Regions from separate parts of the Homo sapiens genome. Here regions 1, 2 and 4 are each linked to region 3. Evidence: promoter capture Hi-C in human tissues and cell types (Jung and others, 2019). All regions are on one chromosome and are shown on one strand. The core of a region is centred on a gene start or on the middle of the fragment in contact, and the rest is flanking DNA. Distances in the headings are between cores, read along the strand shown.

What was found. The method cuts DNA at HindIII sites, captures the fragments that hold promoters and counts their contacts. A contact is called where the count stands out against the background at its distance.
Region 1: a fragment that was not itself captured here is called in contact with the fragment with the promoter of CBLN4 in region 3 in 2 of the 25 tissues and cell types used here (lymphoblastoid cells and thymus).
Region 2: a contact is called between a fragment that was not itself captured here and the fragment with the promoter of CBLN4 in region 3, in 2 of the 25 tissues and cell types used here (dorsolateral prefrontal cortex and lymphoblastoid cells).
Region 4: a fragment that was not itself captured here is called in contact with the fragment with the promoter of CBLN4 in region 3 in 4 of the 25 tissues and cell types used here (H1 embryonic stem cells, lymphoblastoid cells, mesenchymal stem cells and 1 more).

What each region holds. Positions count from the first base shown.
Region 1 is chr20:55,867,812-55,870,511 of GRCh38, reverse strand. No RefSeq gene overlaps it. Among named protein-coding and RNA genes, the nearest start is that of CBLN4, 140 kb to the left of the region's middle. The HindIII fragment of the contact is 5,189 bases long and covers 1-2,700 here.
Region 2 is chr20:55,851,742-55,854,441 of GRCh38, reverse strand. It overlaps LOC105372678 (a long non-coding RNA gene), which reads right to left and starts at 1,934. Exons shown (of 3, transcript XR_001754724.1): 1 at 1,806-1,934. The HindIII fragment of the contact is 4,383 bases long and covers 1-2,700 here.
Region 3 is chr20:56,004,170-56,006,878 of GRCh38, reverse strand. CBLN4 (cerebellin 4 precursor) reads left to right here and starts at 1,360. Exons shown (of 3, transcript NM_080617.6): 1 at 1,360-2,709. The coding sequence starts at 2,708. The HindIII fragment of the contact is 15,736 bases long and covers 1-2,709 here.
Region 4 is chr20:55,831,725-55,834,424 of GRCh38, reverse strand. No RefSeq gene overlaps it. Among named protein-coding and RNA genes, the nearest start is that of CBLN4, 170 kb to the left of the region's middle. The HindIII fragment of the contact is 3,890 bases long and covers 1-2,700 here.

The sequences.
Region 1 (2,700 bases), core at 1-2,500, 140 kb after region 3:
TTAAAATTCTGTTCTATTGGTATCTGTTCTTGTACCAGTACCATGCTGTTATGGTTACTGTAGCCTTATACTATAGTTTGAAGTCAGGTAATGTAATGCCTCTGAGTTTATTCTTTTTGCTTAGGATTGCTTTGGCCATTTGGGATCTTTTTTGGTTAGATATAAATTTCAGAATAGTTTTTCCTAGTTTTGTGAAAGATGATGTTGCCACTTTGATGTAAATATCAAATTGGTAGATTGTTTGGGACAGTATGGCCATTTTAATGGTATTGATTCTTCCAATTGATGAGCATGGAATGTTTGTCTATTTGTGTCATCTATGATTTCTTTTAGCAATGTTTTCTAGTTCTCCTTGTAGAGATCTTTCACCTGCTTGGTTGGATGTATTTCTAAGTATTTTATTGCATTTGTTATTATTGTAAATGGGATTGCATTCCTGATTTGGCTCTCAGCTTGAACATTATTGATGTACAGAAATGCTACTGATTTTTGGAGATTGATTTTGTATCTTGAAACCTTACTGAAGTTGTTGATCAGCTCCTTGAGCCTTTTAATTGAGTATTTAGGGTTCTCCAGGTATAAAATTTTATTATCAGAGACAAGAGCTACTTTGACTTCTTTTTTTCATTTTGGATGCGCTTTATTTCTTTCTCTGGCTAGGACTTCTAGTACTATGGTGAATAGGTGGTAAGTATGGGCATCCTTGGCATGTTCCAGTTCTCAAGAGGAATGCTTCCGGCTTTTGCCTCCTCCGTATGATGTTGGTTGTGAGTTTGTCATAGATGGCTCCTATTATTTTGAGGTATGTTCTTTTGCTGCCCAGTTTGTTGAAGGTTTATAACAGGAGAGGATGTTGGGTTTCCTTGAAGGTTTTTCCTGCATCTGTTGAGAAGATGATATGGTTTTTGTTTTTATTTCTCTTTATGTGGTGAATCACTTTTATTAATTTGCATCTGTTGAACCAACCTTGCATCCTAGGGATGAAACCTACCTGATTGTGGTGAATTAACTTTTTGATGTGCTGCTGGATTAAGTTTGCTAGTATTTTGTTGAGGATTTTTGAGTCTGTGTTCATCAGGGATATTGGCCTGAGGTTTTATTTTGTTCGTTGTATCTCTGCCAGGTTCTTGGCGTTAGGGTGACGCTACCTTCACAGAATGAGTTATGGAGGAGTCCCTCTTCCTTACTTTTTTGAAATAGTTTCAGTAGGATTGGTACTAGCTTTTCTTTGTAGGTCTGATAAAATTCAGCTATAAATCTGATATGGTTTGGGTCTGTTCCTCTGCCCAAATCTCATGTCAAATTCTAATCTCCAATGTTGGAGATAGGGCCTGGTAGGAGGTGATTGAATCATGGGGGCAGATTTCCCTTTGGTTCTGTTCTTGTGATAGTGAGTGAGTTATTGTGAGATCTGGTTGTTTAAACATGTGTAGCACCTCCTGCCTCACTTCTTCCTCCTCTGGCCATGTGAAGAAGTGCCTGCTTCCCCTTCACCTTCCACCATGATTGTAAGTTTCCTGAGGCCTCCCCAGTCATGCTTCCTTACAGCCTGTGGAATCATGAGCCAGTTAAACCTCTTTTCTTTATAAATTATTCCATCTCAGGTATTTCTTTATAGAAGTGCAAGAACAGACTAAGACAGAATCCATCTGGTCTGGGCTTTTATGGTTGGTAGGTTTTTATTAATGATTCAATTTCAAAACTTGATATTGGCCTGTCTGGGGTTTCAATTTATTCCTGATTTTACCTTGGGAGGTTGTGTGTTTCCAGAAATTCATCCATTTCCTCTAGATTTTCTAGTTTGAGTGTATAGAGGTGTTCATAGTAGTCTCTGAGGATCTTTTGTATTTCTGTGGGATTGGTTGTAATGTCATTTTTGCCATTTCTAATTGTGCTTATTTGGATCTCTCTCTCTCTTTTTTTTTTTGTTAATCTAGCTAGTGATCTATCAATCTTGTTTTTCCTTTCAAAGAAACAACTTTTTCTTTCATCGATTGTGTAGATTTTTGGGTCTCAATTCCGTTCAGTTCCACTCCAATTTTACTTATTTTATTTGTTCTCCTAGCCTTGGATTTTATTTGTTCTTGTTTTTCTAGTTCCTCTAAGTGTAATATTAGGTTGTTAGTTTGAGATCTTTCTAACTTTTTCACATAAGGATGTCGTGCTGTAAACTTTCCTTTTTTCCCCTGGTTTTTCTGCATCCCAGAGACTTTGCTATGGTGTGTCTCTGTTTTCATTTATTTCAAAGATTTTTTTAAAATTTCTGCCTTAATTTTTTTGTTTATCCAAAAGTTAATTAGAAGCAAGTTGTTTAATTTTCATGTAGTTGTGTGGTTTTGAGAGGACTGGGGTACTGATTTTTTTTCTTTTTATCCCACTGTGGTCCAAGAGTGTGGTTGGTATGGTTTTGATTTTTTTGAGTTGATTGAGACTTGCTTTATGGGTGAGCCTGTGGTCAATCTTGGAGTATGTTCTGTGTGCAGATGAGAGAGTGTATTATTCTGTGGTTGATAGGGGGAGTATTCCATAGATGCCTTTTAAGTCCAGTTGGTTAAGTGTTGAATTCAAGTCTAGAATTTCCTTGTTAGTTTTCTGCCTCTGTTTAATGCTGTCAGTGGTGTGTTGAAGTCTCTCAGTATTATTGCATGGCTGTATAAATCTTTTTTAGGTCTTAAAGTAGTTGTTTTATGAATCTGAGTG
Region 2 (2,700 bases), core at 198-2,697, 150 kb after region 3:
AGATACATTCTTAATTTTTGATTAAAGCCTAAAGTTAAAATGCCCATCCCCTTTCAATGAAGAGAGATTCAATGAATTTCCTCAGAGATGAGCCCTTATTCTAACATGTCTTAGCTAAAGCTTTGATGGCTATTTGAATATCAACAGTATTATTGACTGTGATGAGTAAAAATAAAAATAACCTGAAATAAGTTTCCAAATTTAGACTTAGTTACAATCTCTGATCATGTTGTTATTTTTTTCCACTTTGCTTTTCTCACTCTTTCAAACCTTCTCTCTGATCATTTTTCTTTTTCCAGAAATTTGTGAGAGCCATACAAACAAACCAAAAGTAAATCAACAGACATAGGTGTCTAAATGAAACACCTACGACTTTTTTAACCTAAAATTCTCTAGAGTTTTTAGCAATCACTTTAGCTCTTTGCTTATCAGTCAGAATCTGAAATGCTACCCATTGTAGGAAAGCCGGAAGCCATCAACAGGCAGAAGTTATGGAAATATTTAACAAACATAGTCTTGTTGATGTGATTATTGTTGCTTTTTATTTTTACAGTATGGTACAGCCAAATGTAAAATTTCTTTTGTAAGTGTTGATGTTGAACACTTACAAAATGTAAGTTGATGATAAACCAACTGTAGATGCCTGAAATTCAGCTCATTCCCTTAATAATGTCTATTTTTTGAAAACCATGGACTTTATTAAAGGATAAAAAGGATGTGTTGAGAAGACAAAAGGGTACTGTTGGTGTAAGCAATGTGTTCTACATCATTTAGTATGAAGTTTTCATATGAGTGCATATATACACTCACATTCATTTCAACCTGTAACAATTAATTAGAATGCTTATACATTAATGAATATTCTATACCTAGTTCTCTTTAAGTAAGGAGATAATACACATTTGTTCAATTCTAAAAGTATATGTGTACTTGTGGCTTATTATACATACATATATGTTTAATATCTATTTATCTGTCTATCCGTAATCTATTTGTCTGTAGAGACTTGCAAATTACATAGATTGAGGTTAGGGATTGGATTTGTTCCTCGTTATATCAATATATGTAATGTACCAGCCATTATTCTAGAACCTAGTAGGTATTGCATAAATATGTATTGATTGAATAAATGAATGACTATTAATAGTTTTATTACAAACTCTCAACTGTTTTTCACTAAGATGTTAGCAAAACTCTTTCCCATAAAAGGTAAACAAAAATCAGCTTTTAATAGTGTGGAGAAGATGTTTAAAAATTTCATTATAAAACAGCTTTAAAAGGTCATGGCCATGGTGGCTTATGTCTGTAATGCCAGCACTTTGGGAGGCTAAGGCAGGAGGATTGAGGATTGCTTGAGGCCAGGAGTTTGTGACCAGCGTGGGGAACATAGTGAGGCCCCATGTCTACAAAAAATAGAAAAATTAGCTGGAGATAGTGGCTTGCACCTGTAGTCCCAGCTACTTGGGAAGCTAGGGTGGGAGGATTGCTTGAGCCTAGGAGCTCCACACTTCAGTGAGCTGTGATCACGCCAGTGCACTACATCCTAGGTGACAAAGCAAGACCTTGGGTCAAAAAAAAAAAAAGTCCATATACTCTTACTAAAAGCCCTTTTCTCTTCTGTTCCTCCGTCTTTCTTGTGGAGTGTAGCAGAAAGAGATTTTAATAAGCTTGTTACTGGGAAAAGTTTACCTCAAGGATATAGGCCTCCCTTTAAAATCAACCTATTTCAAAATCATGTGTATTTTGGTACTTTCTGAAAACTTATATATCTCCATCCCAGCATCCCTGAAGATTTTGCTTCTTACTTGATTTGTGATTGCTTATGTGGTTATTGGATAAAGAGGTAGTGGTTGTTCCTGAAATTCAAAATCATGATCCATCATCTGTCATCTTCTGGGTAACATGTGGCCAGAGTTCTAAAGTCTTCAGGATATGACCAGCTGAAGATAAAAATAGGAATAATTTTAGAACTCAGGAAAAGGCCCTAAATATGGTAGATATTTTGGTACTTTTAGCCACATAGAGTGCAGATAGGACTAGCCTAAATACTTGTGAGAACTACAATACAATTTCCAGGAAATAAGTAGATGAGAATAATAAATCAGGCCTTTACTTTAGAAAGGTGGAGGTGAACCAGAAAAGGGGCCTGCAGGTACACAAAACTAAAAGATGCTAAAACAGAAATCGTTCACCAAAGAGTATATTCAATCTGCTACAGTTTTAAGTCATGAATAACCATAAAGAATTAAGGGAAATGCCCCTTTAAAAAATAGATTGGCTACAAAACTAGGGGAATAGTTGAAAAAATAATTGCATTGTTAAGATTTACTTTATGAGTACATTTACAGAGTTAGAATAAGTAGGAAGAAGGAATAATCTGTCACTGAAATGTCTGCAAGGAAATTTAAGTAATGATTGAACTTAGGTGGGGATAATGAACTGCAGAGTGGGTACTGAAAAAAATAGAATTTGTTCCATGGAAGGCAAATCAAAAAAATTACCCATAATTCTATGGCAAAAAAGAAGTGTTAAAAATGATGAGCGAAAAAAATAAGAGATGAGGATAGTTCCAGGAAATCTACAAAACAAGAATTGCAGAAAAAGAGAACACAGGCATAGTGAGTCTAAATCTCAAACATTAAAAAAACCCAACCAGCCAAATAATTAAATCTAAAAATCAAAAAGACCAACGATTAGTCC
Region 3 (2,709 bases), core at 111-2,610:
ACAGGAAATAAAAGGAACTAAATTCAACTCAGCACCCACCCTCAAAAGACTGCATCAAATGAGAAGAAATTGCTGCTGTTAACCAGGCAGACATCCCTAAAATCTGGAAGAGAGTTACAAAGTGCAGAGAGGGATCAGGTGAAGATTGTGCTGGGCTTAGGGTGGGGCATCAAAGCTGGGTAAATGGTGGCCATCTTCAGAAGGCACTAGTTCACCTTGTTTGGTTGTAGCTTAGATAGGTAACTTTCAACATTTTAACAAATAGCATGGTACTAGCACCTGCCAGCCGGAACTGACACCGGCCTGTAGTCTCAGCTACTGGGGAGGCTGAGGTAGTAGAATCGCTTGAGCCCAGTAGTTTTGCATCTAGCCTGGGCAATATAGCGAGACCACCCCCCACCACAAGTAAAATAAAATCATAAAGTCAAAACACCTGATACTGGCCCCACTGGAGCAGAATCTGAAGGCCCCTGTGGCACCAAGTATTAACACTTTAGTTGAGAGATTATAGGGAGGTGAGGGTTAGGGGATTCCTCGTAGTGTCTTCAATTTTAACAGTTGGAGCTGGTGCTTATAGCTCAATGCCCGGCCCTTCTGAAGGAAGGGAAAAAGGCTGGAGACGAGGTTCACCTTGTTTTGTGGAGGGCTCGAATGCCACGCTCATGAGGGCGTCCTTCACTCAGGAAGGAATGGGAGCCGTCCATCCCAAGGACCTCCCTCAATAAACATCCCTTCCATTCATAACTAGCCAATGCCATTTTAGGAGCTCCGAATGCCTGGAGGGGATACTGTTTTGGTTAAAGATACCATACGTGTCTGCCCTCTGGCAGCTGGAAGTGTAGAAGAAATTGGGGAAGGGGCGCCATGACCCCACAGCATCACAGAATTGGAAAGCTGGCGGGATGGGGGTGGGGAGGACCTTAGTTAACGCCGCGCCCCCCTCTCAGAGAGGGTTAGTGACTCGGCCAAGTTCACGCAGCCGGGTCCAGACAGAGACAAACCTCCCTTCCCCGTGGTAGCTGCAGAAGAGGAAGGGAACTCTTGCAAATCAGAGGCCAAGATAGCAGTGGAGTGGCACGGGGGCGGAAAGCGCATCCAAAGGGGAGAAAAATGCTGTATTCCTAGGAGTGGGATTGTCTTTTATTTTTATTTTTATTTTTATTTTTTTATTGTTGTTGGCACGGTTTCGGAGGACTTATTCTTGCTGAGTTAACTCCCTCTCCCACTCTTTTTTTTGGCCATGCCTGGGGAGGATTCGCGGTGTGGGGGGAAGGCGCGCCCCTGCGGCTTCTGAGGCTCATCTTCCCGGAGCGGAAGGAAGGAATCAGGCACCTCCTCCCAGCCGCCCCCACGGGCTCTGGTCCGCCCCAAGGCTTCCCTGAGCTCGCCAGGCCCCAGGGCTGTGTGGGGCGGGCTCCCGGCCAGGCGCGGTCGGGACGCCCGCCGGTCCCCAGGTTCGGGGCAGCGCGCAGCGCGGGTCCGCGGCGGCTTATCCTTTTTCGCGACCCGGCCTGGCAGCGCCGCGCTCCGCTTGGAGGGCACTCGGCGGCAGAGTTCCGCGCTGGGAGGGGTGAGGGGACCAGCCGCCTCCTCTGCGGACTCAGATCGAGCAGGAGAGAGTGGGCGCGGAGCTGGGGCCAGCGCAGGGCCGTGGGCTCCTCTCTGGGCACGCATCCTTTACGCCACGGGCTTTCAGGGGCTGAGGGGCCTCGAACCTTGCCAATCACCAGTGCTGTGCGCCCCGCTTGCTTTGGGGTGCGTTAAACGTCAGGAGAGAGCTGCTCAGATGGGGTCACCAGACGCCTTCTCCCCCTTTTCTCGGAGCCCGCGGGTTGCGCGATAAGCCAACCCAGCCGGACGCTGCGCTCCTATAAATAGAGCGCGTGTGCCCGCTTCGCGCTCTCCGGGCTGCACGAGGGACGAGAAAGTTGTGCGCAGGGACTGGGGGCGGGCGGCCAGGCAGGAGAGGACCCCGCCGGACCAGCCGCCCTGAACGCTGCGCCCGGCGCCCTGGACCTGATCCTGCGAATCCGCGCTTTCGGTGCGAGGGACCTGGCTAGCCGCTGCCTCCCTCCCTACCTCTGGGTGACACCAGGTTTGGGGGATTTTTTTGACCAGGCGAAAGTGGGAGTCGCTGGCGTCCTGGCCATGAACACAGCCTCGCGTTCTTCTCAGCCTGGGAAGGACCTTCTGCCTCTGTAACTCGTCCCTGCCGCAAGCCAGACAGGACTGGCACCCGCGCCGCTGGGCACCCGCCACCCTTGTGGCTTCTCTTTGAGTCCCCTCTTTTTGTTCCTGCTCCGTGGTTTAGCTGGTGGTGCTTGAGTTTGGGGTGAGAATTTATTATTATTATTATTTTTTGCCTTGAGGTGTGAATGTGAGGGTTTGATGACTTTCAGATGTCTAGGAACCAGAGTGGGTGCAGGGGCCCCAGGCAGGGCTGATTCTTGGGCGGAGGAGAGTAGGGTAAAGGGTGCTGCATGAGCTCCTTAAAGGACAAAGGTAACAGAGCCAGCGAGAGAGCTCGAGGGGAGACTTTGACTTCAAGCCACAGAATTGGTGGAAGTGTGCGCGCCGCCGCCGCCGTCGCTCCTGCAGCGCTGTCGACCTAGCCGCTAGCATCTTCCCGAGCACCGGGATCCCGGGGTAGGAGGCGACGCGGGCGAGCACCAGCGCCAGCCGGCTGCGGCTGCCCACACGGCTCACCAT
Region 4 (2,700 bases), core at 132-2,631, 170 kb after region 3:
TATATGTATGTGGTCCTCTGCCAGTGGGAATTAGTAGGATTTCCTTTAGAAAATAGAGAAAAGAAATGTATATATTTGACCTTAGTTTCCTTAGCAAATACTTGGCATTTACTTGTTTGGAAAATAGAATAAGCCATTAGATCATTTGGTGCTATAACAAACACATATGGAGACTCAGCAGGGATTAGAGTACAGTTGTGGTTCACCACCCCCAAAACAGTGATTTTATGTATCCTACACAGGAGATCTTATGATTGTAATGATCTTGTACTTATTGGCAAAATGAGACAAAAATTAATCATCTATTTTTCCTTGTGTCCCTTCTTTGTTTCCCCTTTGTTCATGTCTTGGTCTTGCCTCTTCGTAATTCTGTCATATTTTTTCCTCTATCCTGTTTTTCTTCTCTGTGTTTCTTTTGTTTTCTCATTATATTTATGACACTCACCCTTTTTCTTTCATTATTTTGAGTTGTTCTTACGTTTAACAGCACTTGTTTTTATCTCACCCAAGAAGCTTGCGCCCTTGTTCAGAACTATTCAGCAATAAGTAAAGCTTACCTTTCTTTGTGAATGGTAGAAATTTATTGCAGATTTATTGCAGAAAATTTCCACTTTATTAAGCCGACAGATTTTGCTTGAAGGCATACTACCCTGTGAAATTCTAAATTTGATTTAAAGGTCAGAGGAAAAGCCTGGCACCTACAATCTCTGCCTTTGAATTGTTTTTGTAACACTAAATAGAGTTTACAAGGAGAGGAAATTGCAATTGATCAGCAGAAGACATGCCAATCACAGCTTCTCTCAATAACTCTTTGCCTTTAACCAAGCTAAGAGATGAAGAAAATGATGAGATTAACATGATCTTGTGGAACGTATGAAATTTCAGGTTCAATTAGGTGTACCAATTGGATGAACTACTTTGCGGGAAGAGAGGGAAACACTATTTTTCTGAAAGCTAGAGAGAAACCTTAATTACAGTTGTCAACCACAGGGGTATTTTCATTTGCATACATAAAATAACTTTCTAAAAGGATATATGTGTGTGTGTATATATATGTATATATAAAATAAGCTTTATTTTTGTTCGTTTCTGAATACATAATAGCTTAACTTGCTGCTAGTGATAAACATAGGTAATTTATTTCCAAATGCTTTCTGTTACCACAGCAAAAATGTATTACCTTCTTAATTGAAATTATTTTGTATATAATCAAGTTGTACATTTTAGCAGTGGGGCAGCTTAATGAAAATTTTAAATTTACTGTGTTAATCCCTTAAAATGTGCAAATTTTAGTTATCTGATAATGAATTATTGGTAATGGTATGAAAGAAAATAAAGCAAACATCTAAAACTTCTAAAAGCTGTTAACATCAGAGTTGTCCGAAACCAGGAATAAGACTAAAATATGAATCCAAAGTTGTCTAATATTGTTTTGATGGTTGTGGAATGACCATTTTTGGTGACCATTGTACTTCTTTCTACTAAAGGGTAACTCTTCAGAGGTCACCTTGAGGTAGAAACACATTAAGGTCCTCTAGAGTCCTCTAGAAACAACGTAGACTGCTGGCTATGCAAACAAAACAATAGAGTGTAACAGAATCTATATTTACCTAATTTAAGTCTTCTGCCCGAAATTGGTCCCTGGCAAAAAAAAAAAAAAAAAAAAAAAAAAAAAAAAAAAAAAAGCCAACTGTTATTGACAATGTGGCTGGTAGAGGTAGCACATTGGGGCTTTCGTGGTGAAGGCAACAACCATTCTCCTTCTCCTGTTCTTTCTGCATGATGTCCTCAGCTACCAGTGGTAACTTCCATAGGCTTTAAATACAGTTATTAATATGGCCTGCAGGTTCTTGTTTTTTAAATAACTTTTTTTTTTTATTAACTGTAATAGTAACACATGCTCACTGTTTAAAGTTTGGACCATTCATAATAACCTAAGGAAAAATGGAACTATCTCCACAATCTTAGTACCCAGAAATAATTACTTAATAATTGTGAATATTTTGGCCTGTTTCCTCTAGCTTTTCATTCTGTGCATTATGAACATATTGGTGTGTGTTTGCTACTGGGGTGTGTGTGTGTGTGTGTGTGTGTGTGTGTGTGAGAACTGTTACAAAATAGGAGGCATAGACTATGTAATTTTATGTTTATGTTTGTTTTTTACATTTAACATTTTGAGAATTTTATTAACAGTTTTGAAAAACCTGGCTTATGATAGCTAACTAATATTCCATCATAAGGAGGAAGGATCTTTGTTTATTTGTTTAGGGTATTAAGGTTATCTCTAATTTTTCACTGTCAGAAATTGTCCTGTGGTAAATACCTTTGTACCTAAGTCTCTATATATATCTCTGATTTTTTTTTTCAGGATCTTTTCCCAAAAGTGTAATGCCAGCTTCAAAGGATACATGAATGACCCTGAGGCTCTCAATCCATATTGCTGAAATACAGCAGTGTCCACACTGTGGGTGAGGTTTTGGGACCTCCCTTTTCTTTTTTCATGTGGCTTTGGCCACACAGCCAGAAAGCGGTGCTTCAGGCAGGAGCTGAATCAGTGTCACTGGAGCAGGCTTCCTTTGTGCTTTCCTCTCCTGCCAGGATCCTAGTCACAGCTGAGTTTGCCGACAATATGCATTTAGATTCTTGTTACTTTCTCAGAAACAGAAGGGCAGAAACTTGGTCTGATCTGGAATTTTATAT